Linked DNA regions of Homo sapiens: region 2 is linked to region 1. Evidence: promoter capture Hi-C in 16 types of primary human blood cells and fetal thymus (Javierre and others, 2016). All regions are on one chromosome and are shown on one strand. The core of a region is centred on a gene start or on the middle of the fragment in contact, and the rest is flanking DNA. Distances in the headings are between cores, read along the strand shown. Region 1 holds the start of EN2 (engrailed homeobox 2). Region 2 overlaps RBM33 (RNA binding motif protein 33).

What was found. Contacts are between HindIII fragments. The CHiCAGO score rates a contact against its expected background, and 5 or more counts as called.
Region 2: a contact is called between a fragment that was not itself captured here and the fragment with the promoter of EN2 in region 1, in 1 of 17 cell types (neutrophils). The highest score is 5.1, in neutrophils.

What each region holds. Positions count from the first base shown.
Region 1 is chr7:155,456,756-155,460,776 of GRCh38, reverse strand. EN2 (engrailed homeobox 2) reads right to left here and starts at 2,648. Exons shown (of 2, transcript NM_001427.4): 1 at 1,715-2,648. The coding sequence starts at 2,399. EN2-DT (EN2 divergent transcript) reads left to right here and starts at 3,659. Exons shown (of 3, transcript NR_186580.1): 1 at 3,659-3,787. RefSeq lists an enhancer at 2,995-3,986. The HindIII fragment of the contact is 14,368 bases long and covers 1-4,021 here.
Region 2 is chr7:155,665,614-155,669,654 of GRCh38, reverse strand. All of the region lies in intron 2 of RBM33 (RNA binding motif protein 33), which reads right to left. Among named protein-coding and RNA genes, the nearest start is that of RBM33, 23 kb to the right of the region's middle. The HindIII fragment of the contact is 3,684 bases long and covers 572-4,041 here.

The sequences.
Region 1 (4,021 bases), core at 1,399-3,898:
GCTTTGGTAGGGGTAGGTGCAGATTTGGAGATGGGGTTGGCCCTCCGGAACGGTGGTGGGGGATGGGGCACAAGGCTCCAGGAGAGGCCCCAGCCTCCTGCTCCCAGAGCCCATCTCTGTCTGGGTTTCCAACCACTCCCTTCCCCAGAACTCTACCCCCAAACTCTTCTGGTCCTGGGGCTCTTGTTAATGCACTCATGAAGCAGCCCGCAAAAGGACACCATTTTATGGCAATAAATTTCCCTAAAATAATAATTTTTAGGTTTTTTTCTTGATTTTCTTTCAAAAGACAAATACTTAGGAGTCTCAGAAACAGAATCAAACCTCCCCAAGAAAACTCTCTCTCCCCTTTCTTTCGGAGAAACCAAAGAACAGAAACATTATCTTGCAGGGATATTTTAAAGCCCATGAAGATAGGCGACTTGGGCTGGGCTGAGCTGGGCCGGGCCAGGCCGGGCCGGGCGGTGCTGCCCAGCTCCCGGGCCGTTGGGGGCTGGCTCAGCGAACTCCCGCGCCGCACAAAGCCCGGCCGAGTCTCCTCGCCCGGCATTGTGAGCCTGTATGTTAATTAAATATTAACAAAGGAGGAAGACGAGAACAATGGAGCAAATTTCAGATCTAGCTGAGAAATCTGAATTTCATCAGAAATATGCACGCATAGTTCTGCGGGATGGCGGCCCAAGGGTTGGCTCACTCCTGCTGTGATCTGGGCAAATGACCCCCGCAAAATAGTTGAGGGTTTGGGGGCAGCGGGGATCCGCTGCCAGCTCGGGGTCAAACAGTCCACTTCTAATGGCGGTTCCCAGCCGCAGACCCGCATGGAATGCAGTTGATGATTTCTACAAGGACATGGACTTAGTTTTTTAAAATCGCAGATCTATGAAAAAATATATCCAGCATCTCTGCAGGGCCCCTGCGAATGCTGCCTCTTTCCCATCAGCAGCCCCCAGGAAACCCTGAGAGAAGGTCCTTTCTATTTGGGGATGGCAGGTGCCGGGAGGGACGGCTGCCTCCCTTGTCCTCGCTGTGTGCAGGAAGGGGGCTGAGCCCCACCACTGCGGGCTGGCGCTGGCAAACAAAGTGGAGCCAAGGGGAAAGGGCGCCTTTATTTTCCTCCTTCCCTGTGTGCATCCTCCTGAGTCCCACCGGTCAGCGCAGGCCCGAGGGGCAGAAGGCAGAGCGGCAAAGGGCCTCGCCTTTTCTTCCCCGAGCACAGCCGGGATAACCGGATGGTAGGACAAGTCTGGGGTGGGCTGGGGCATGCGTCCCCGGCCTGGCCTGAGTTGGAAGATCGTAGGGAAGGGGATGAGAGTGTGCACTTCCGGGCCCATCTTCCAGCCACCACGTTCCCACCAAAAAAAACTACAGTGGGGGAGACATGGGCTAGGGGCTGGGAAGAGATGCGCCAAGGCGGGGTGGAAGACAGAGAGGGGAGACAGGGAGAGAGGAAGGAGAGAGAGAGACAGAGAAAGAAAGAAGGTCCCTTCTGCGGTCCTAAGAAGTCTGTACCCCCTAGCGAATCAGTCCTGCCGCTGGACTCCTGGCCGCTGCCCGGGCCGGCGTCAGCTTCACACAATGTCGCGTGAGTCTTTGTGCGTGTGCGCGGGGGAGGTTCGAGATGTTTTCCTCCCGGTAAGTTCCCGCGCCAGCACCGCCCCCCAGCTCCGCGGGCCTCCCCGCGGCGAGCCGGGACGCGTGGTCCCCGCGGGCTCACCTGAAGAAGGCCGGTCCGAGTAGCGCGTACAGTAGACCCACGCCGGCCAGAGCATGGGCTGCGCGCCCAGGTTGGCGCCGGCTTGCGAGCTGTCCGAGTCCGAGCTCACCGACAGGTCGCCGCCGCCCAAGCCGCGGGCCTTGAGCGACCCGTCCAGGGGGCCGCCGGGGTCGCCGCCTTTCTTGGCGCCACCGTGCAGCGAGAGCGTCTTGGAGCCGCCTTCCCCGTCACCCGGAGAGTCGCTGCCGGCGGCTGGGAGCGGCCCGCCCGCGCCGGGCGCACATGGCGGGTTCTGCCGGGGCTCTCGGGAGCCCGAGCCCAAGAGCTGCTCCGAGCCGCCCGCGCCGCCGCCTCCCTCCGCACCGCTCGCGCCGCCTTCGCCGCCGGCTCCGCCGCCCCTTCCTCCTCCCGCGCCCGCACAGCAGGTCCCCGCGTCCTTTCGCCGGCCGAACTCGGGCCGCAGGATGTTGTCGATGAAGAAGTTGGTGATGCGGTGCGGGTGCTGGTGGTTGCCGGGCGCCTGCAGGACCGCGGGCAGCATCAGAGCCCGCCGGCGCCCGGTGTCCGCTTCGCCCGGGCTGCTACCGCCGCCGCCGCCCGAGCCGCCGCCGGGGCTGGATTCCGGCTGCCGCTGTCCCTCCACCGCCGCCGCTGCTTCGCCAGGCTTGGGGTCATTCTCCTCCATGCTGTTCACAGTAAATCCCACACTGGTTCTCCGGGGACGCCCTTCCAAATCAGCCTTCGGCCCTCCCGCGGCGCACACGGAGACCCCCGCGCCCCCACCCCGCCGAGTCTTCCGAGGGCGTGCGCGGCGGCCGCGGCCAGGGCTGAGGTCCTACAAGTCGCCGGCCGCGCTCGGCGCGGAGCCACCTTTGAATCCACGAACTGGGTTAGAAACACCACGAGCCGCCCCGCTCGCCCAGACGATGAGAGATTCAACAGAGCCAAGTCCTCGACTTCGCCGCGCAGCCGGGGTCTAGACAGTCGCAGTGGTCCGGCGGGGACGCGGGCCGCCTCCCGGGCTCCCCGCTCCTCTCCGCGTCCGGCCGCCTCGGGCTCCGGCGCCGCCGCCTGGGCCGCCCGGGGCGAGAGCTGCGCGCATGCAGGCAGCGCGTTCCCCGGCGCTCACGCCCGCCCGGGCCGGCTCCGGCCGCCGCCGCCGCCCGGCCGTCCCCGCCCGCACGCCCTAGCCGGCCCTCGAGGGTGCCGGGCGCCCGCGGTCAGCGCGCCCGCCACCGCCCGCACGCACATGGAGGCCCCCTCCTCGCGGCCGCCGCCCCGCTGCGGGCCGGGGCGCCCCACCGGCGTGCGGCCGCGCCCCCGCCGAGCCCCGCAGAGCTCCGCGGCCCGAGTCGCATGGGTGAGAGACGCGAGGCCAGGGCCCGGCCGGGCCGGGCTGGGCCGCCCGCGCTCCCCGGCCGTCCGCCGCCCTCGCCGCCTCGGCCTCCGCGCGGGCTCGGAAATTTCCAGGCCACTCGGCGCAACCTGAGACACTTTCACTCTGGATTTTTGTTCTTATTTTTAACAGAGCCCCCTCGAGTGACGTCGCAGGCCGGTCTCCTGGACACGTGCCTCGGGCCAATGGCCGCGGCGCCGCGCGCCCACGTGACGCTCCGGCCGCCGCTGGGTGACAGGAGCAGCCCGCCGCCCCTCCTCCCCTTAAAGCGGCCGCGTCCCCCGCTCCGGGTGCGGGAGCCCAGGAACCCGGAGAGACCCCCGACCGCGTCTCCTGCGCTCGCCCGCGCTTTCCCTGTCGCTTCGCGGTTCAGGGGTGTGAGTCACCCGGCGACAGCCCCGCCAGGTCACCCCGGGGCGCGTAGGTGGACACGCACAGGAAGATCGCTATTTTTAAGATTTCCATATTGTTTACCGTGGGGCGAAATCCCACAATTCCTTGCACAAAATGCATAAATAATATTAAATGAGCTGCCGAGATACAAAGGGACTTTTGTGGTCCGCTTTCCTTGCTGATGGAGAGGAATAGTGTCACTCCCATTTGACTCGGTAACCCGGCAGCTTCCTGTCTTAAACGCAGAGCTGGCGCGCAGGACACTCCTCCTGCAGACACTTATTGTAAGTGTGCGTGTGTGTGCGTGTGCAGGGAGGCGCGTGCATACGGCCGCATTCCACCCGGGGACAGCGACCCTCATGAAACATGCTTAGCGATCCGAAAGAGCGGGGGAATGCAGTATGCGGCTCCATTTGCGAAGGGAGAAATCCAGGAGCCTCGGAGGTTCTAAAGGAATCCTTTTTGCCAAGGAGAGGAGGGGTGACTGTTCAGCTAAGACTTCAAAACCAAGTCGCCCG
Region 2 (4,041 bases), core at 1,164-3,663, 210 kb before region 1:
TTGGGCCAGGCATGATGATTCACACCGTAATCTCAACACTTTGGGAAGCTGAGGTGGTTGGATCACCTGAGACCAGGAGTTCAAGACCAGCCTGGCCAACACGGCGAAACCCCTTCTCTACTAAAAATATAAATATTAGCCAGGCACGGTGGCACATGCCTGTAATCCCGGCTACTCGGGAGACTGAGGCATGAGAATCGCTTGAACCTGGGAGGTAGAGGTTGCAGTGAGCTGATATCGCACCACTGCACTCCAGAGCAGACTCTGTCTCAAAAAAACAAAAACAAAAACAAACAAAAACTTTTTGAGTGGGTATCTCTTTCTTGCCTGGACACATGAGACATTCATATCTTTAAAAAAAATAAATAAAACACAATTTCAGGTGTTGGTTCAGCAATGACATCATATTCTTCCAAACACCACTACCAGTACAGCATGGCAGAAGAACTTACCATAGTAATTCCTGACCCACTCTTCTCACCTTCCAAGTGTCTCTCTCTGTGTCATGCAGCACACAGAGAGGCTGTCTTATGCTTAAAACATCAAAAAAGAAATACATGTGGCAAAAGCTTCATAGATGCAAACACGTCACTGAAGACAGTAAAAAAAAGAGCTCGTTCACAAACAATATGAAACAACTGCAATTCATAATACGGTAAACAATAAAACCTAGAACCGTCTCACACCATGACCAAAACAAGTTCCATCATAGCAGAAAGCAAGACAGCTGCCAAAGACATCTAAAGTCATGTCAAATGGACACAGGAGCCAACCTGAAGAAATTCCAGTTGAACAAATATCAGGCAATGTAACCACCAATAAAGATACGAAACGACAATGGATTCAACACAACCAACATTTAAATCTATGATTTCAAAATGATTCAAAAACAAAACTCATCCCTGCAAGTGCTAGGGCTGACTTCTTAGTTTGAAACTTGGTAAACAACAGGAAAGACTCAATCACTTACCCTGTCTTTTCTATGTAATCTCTACCTCAAGAACGAACTAGTTTACAGTACTATTAGGTAGTATATTAGTGTACTAGTACTACAGGTAACAGGAAAAGCAGAGGTATCACCACGCAAAGTTCACCAGCCCCCAAGGAGCTTCCGATGAGGAACACAGCAATACTTACTACACTGCCACACCCCGGCCCCTCCCCCAAGTTCAAACCTGAATCCCATCCACTTCTATTAACTCACATAAAATATCAGCAGCTAAGGGGCACACTAAAAACACCTCAGGGAGTGCAATCAGCAAAAGGAAAAATTCTAGAAGACACGCTACCTTGCTTCTTCAACAAAAATTGCATGGAACTAAAATAAGATGGGGGAGAACCTGTACATGAAACAACACTTGAAAGACATACCCATCAATGACCATGTGCGCCCAATTCAAACCATCAAAAAGCACACAGACACATATCCACACTGTGTAAGTGACAGTATACTAATACATATATTTAAAATATGTGTGTATACATATGTATGTAGATATATATGCGTCTACATACGTATACATAGACACACACACAAATATAAGAGACAATCGGAAATGTAAACACTAAGATATTTACGTAATAAGGAATTTTTTTAGATATAGTAACTATTGTGGCTATATTTTAAACCGTTTATTTTTTAGAAAAATATATTCTGAAATTTTTTCAAAAATTTTGTGATTTGAGGGGGCTGCAGAGAGTATGGATAAGAGATTGGCTATATGCTGATAACTGGTGAAACTGGAAGATGGTACATTGGGTTCACTGTACTAGTCTATTTTCACATATGCTTGAACTTGTTAGTAACTAAAAATCAATCAATTCAATCAATTTCAGGCAGACTGTATAGCTATTTAAAAAAATTACAACTTTCATAGACACATGCAGGAGATATCTAGAATACAAGGAAGGGAAGAATTTCTTAAGGACAAAAAGCACAAACCAATTTCCTGTGCCTCCTGAAGTGGGCACTCAGGAGGCCACACATCATCTACTCTGACCACAATGCACAGCCCGCATTTAGTCACAATGGACCACCAGCAAACCCAAGATAAATGGCCTGTCAACGTCATAAAAGACAGGCTACAGAATTCTTCCACATTAAGAAATGATGAAAGAAAAATGCAATGTATGATCCTGAATTGAATCTTGAATCAGAACAAAAAATTCTTTTGGGGGTATAAAGGAAATTATTGAGACAACTGAAAACAATCTGAATAACCACTGTAGAATAAAAATACAACTGGGCACGGCACACTAGCTCACGCCAATCCCAGCACTCTGGGAGGCCAAGGCAGGAGCATCACTTGAGCCCAGGAGTTCCTGCTTGCTATGATCACGCCACTACACTCCACCTGCGTGACAGAGAAACACCCTGTCTCCAAAACAACAACAATAAACCTCACATATATAGAACTGGATGTCTGATAAACTTCCTGACTTTAAAAATTATACAATATTTATATAAGTGAAAGTTCCTGTTTTGCGGGAAATACATGCTAAACAATACTGAAGCATTCGGAAGTGGCATGACACCTGCAACCTACTGTCAAATGGTACAGGAAAGAAAATTTTACATATACAGTATATCCATGTACGTAAACAATTAGAATGACAACATAAGTTGACAAAAAGCAGTTCATGAGTGTAAGAGAAGGTCAAGTGGGAGTTTCTGTATTATTCTTGCAACTTTCTTGGAAGTCTGAAAGGGTTTCCAAATACATTTTTGTTCATGTTTTAATAAAAAAAGAATAAAAACTACACAGAAAAAAGATTATACATCTGACTGTATTCTTCTCAAAAATCTAGTCAAAGACTATTTTTTAAGGAAACACATGCCACAGACTGGGAGGAGATACTTATAAACAATAAAAATAAATTTCCAGTAAGTATAATATAAACAGTCCCTAAAATCAATAAACAAAAGACAAACAACCCAAAAGAAAAAACAGATATGAACAGACCATTCAAAGAGGAACTCCAAATAATGAGTAAGCTATTGAAAGACCCACTTAATATTTTATTCAGCTCACCATCACAGTCTTTTAATCAAAACTAGCTTTAGTACTTACTAGTAAGACCATTTCTTTTCTAGGAAAGACATCGTTTTTAAGCACTATCTAACTTTTAGAATGCATACTGGCTGATTTTGTGCGACAGCTTGACTGGGATAAGAGATGCCCAGCTACCTAACAAAATATTATTTCTGTGAAAGTCCATGAGGGTGCTTCCAGAGCTGATTAGCAATGAGTCCACAGACTGAGTAAAGAAATCCATCCTCACCAATGTGGGCAGACATTACCCAAAAAGTTGGAGTTGGGCAAATTCACCCTCTTCTTGAGCTGAGCTATCTTCTGCCCTCAGACATGGGTGCTCCTGGTTCTCAGGCCTCCAGGCTCAGATAGGGACTTCCATGACTGGCTCCCCTGGTTCACAGAACACTGGGCTCAGACTGGAACTACACCATTCTACAGACCGTGTAACTTCTCAGTCTCCATAATCACGTGAGCCAGTCCTTCATAATGAATCTTTCTACATATATTCTTTTGGTTCTGCTCCTCTGGAGAATCCTGACTAATACACTGCATGAGTCACTAAAGAGCAATCAGCTTTATGTGAACTGTAAGGGCCTCATAGTTCTCAAGTTAGATTATTCTATAAAACTTCCAGATGTGACACTGCCGTTTTCAAATTGACTGCAGCTTCAAAGTAATTGTTACATTTTCTCAACACAGTATTTAAGGTGTTAAAAAAGTTATAAAGAATAACCATCATTTCTCAGCCCCACCACCCAGATTAAGCCCCACTGTGTATTTCTCCCAGAACACATCTCTAACCTCTATTATTAACTCCTTGCCAGAGGTAACCACTATATCAAACTACCATCTATCATCACTGTGGATTTTTAAATTGTGTTTGTGTGTATTCCTAAACAGGTCATTTTCATCCATTCCTAAACAGGTATTTTCATCTTCACTGGTAACCAGGAAAATGAAAGTTAAAATTAGTGAAATACCATCTACACATATTAGAATGGAAAAA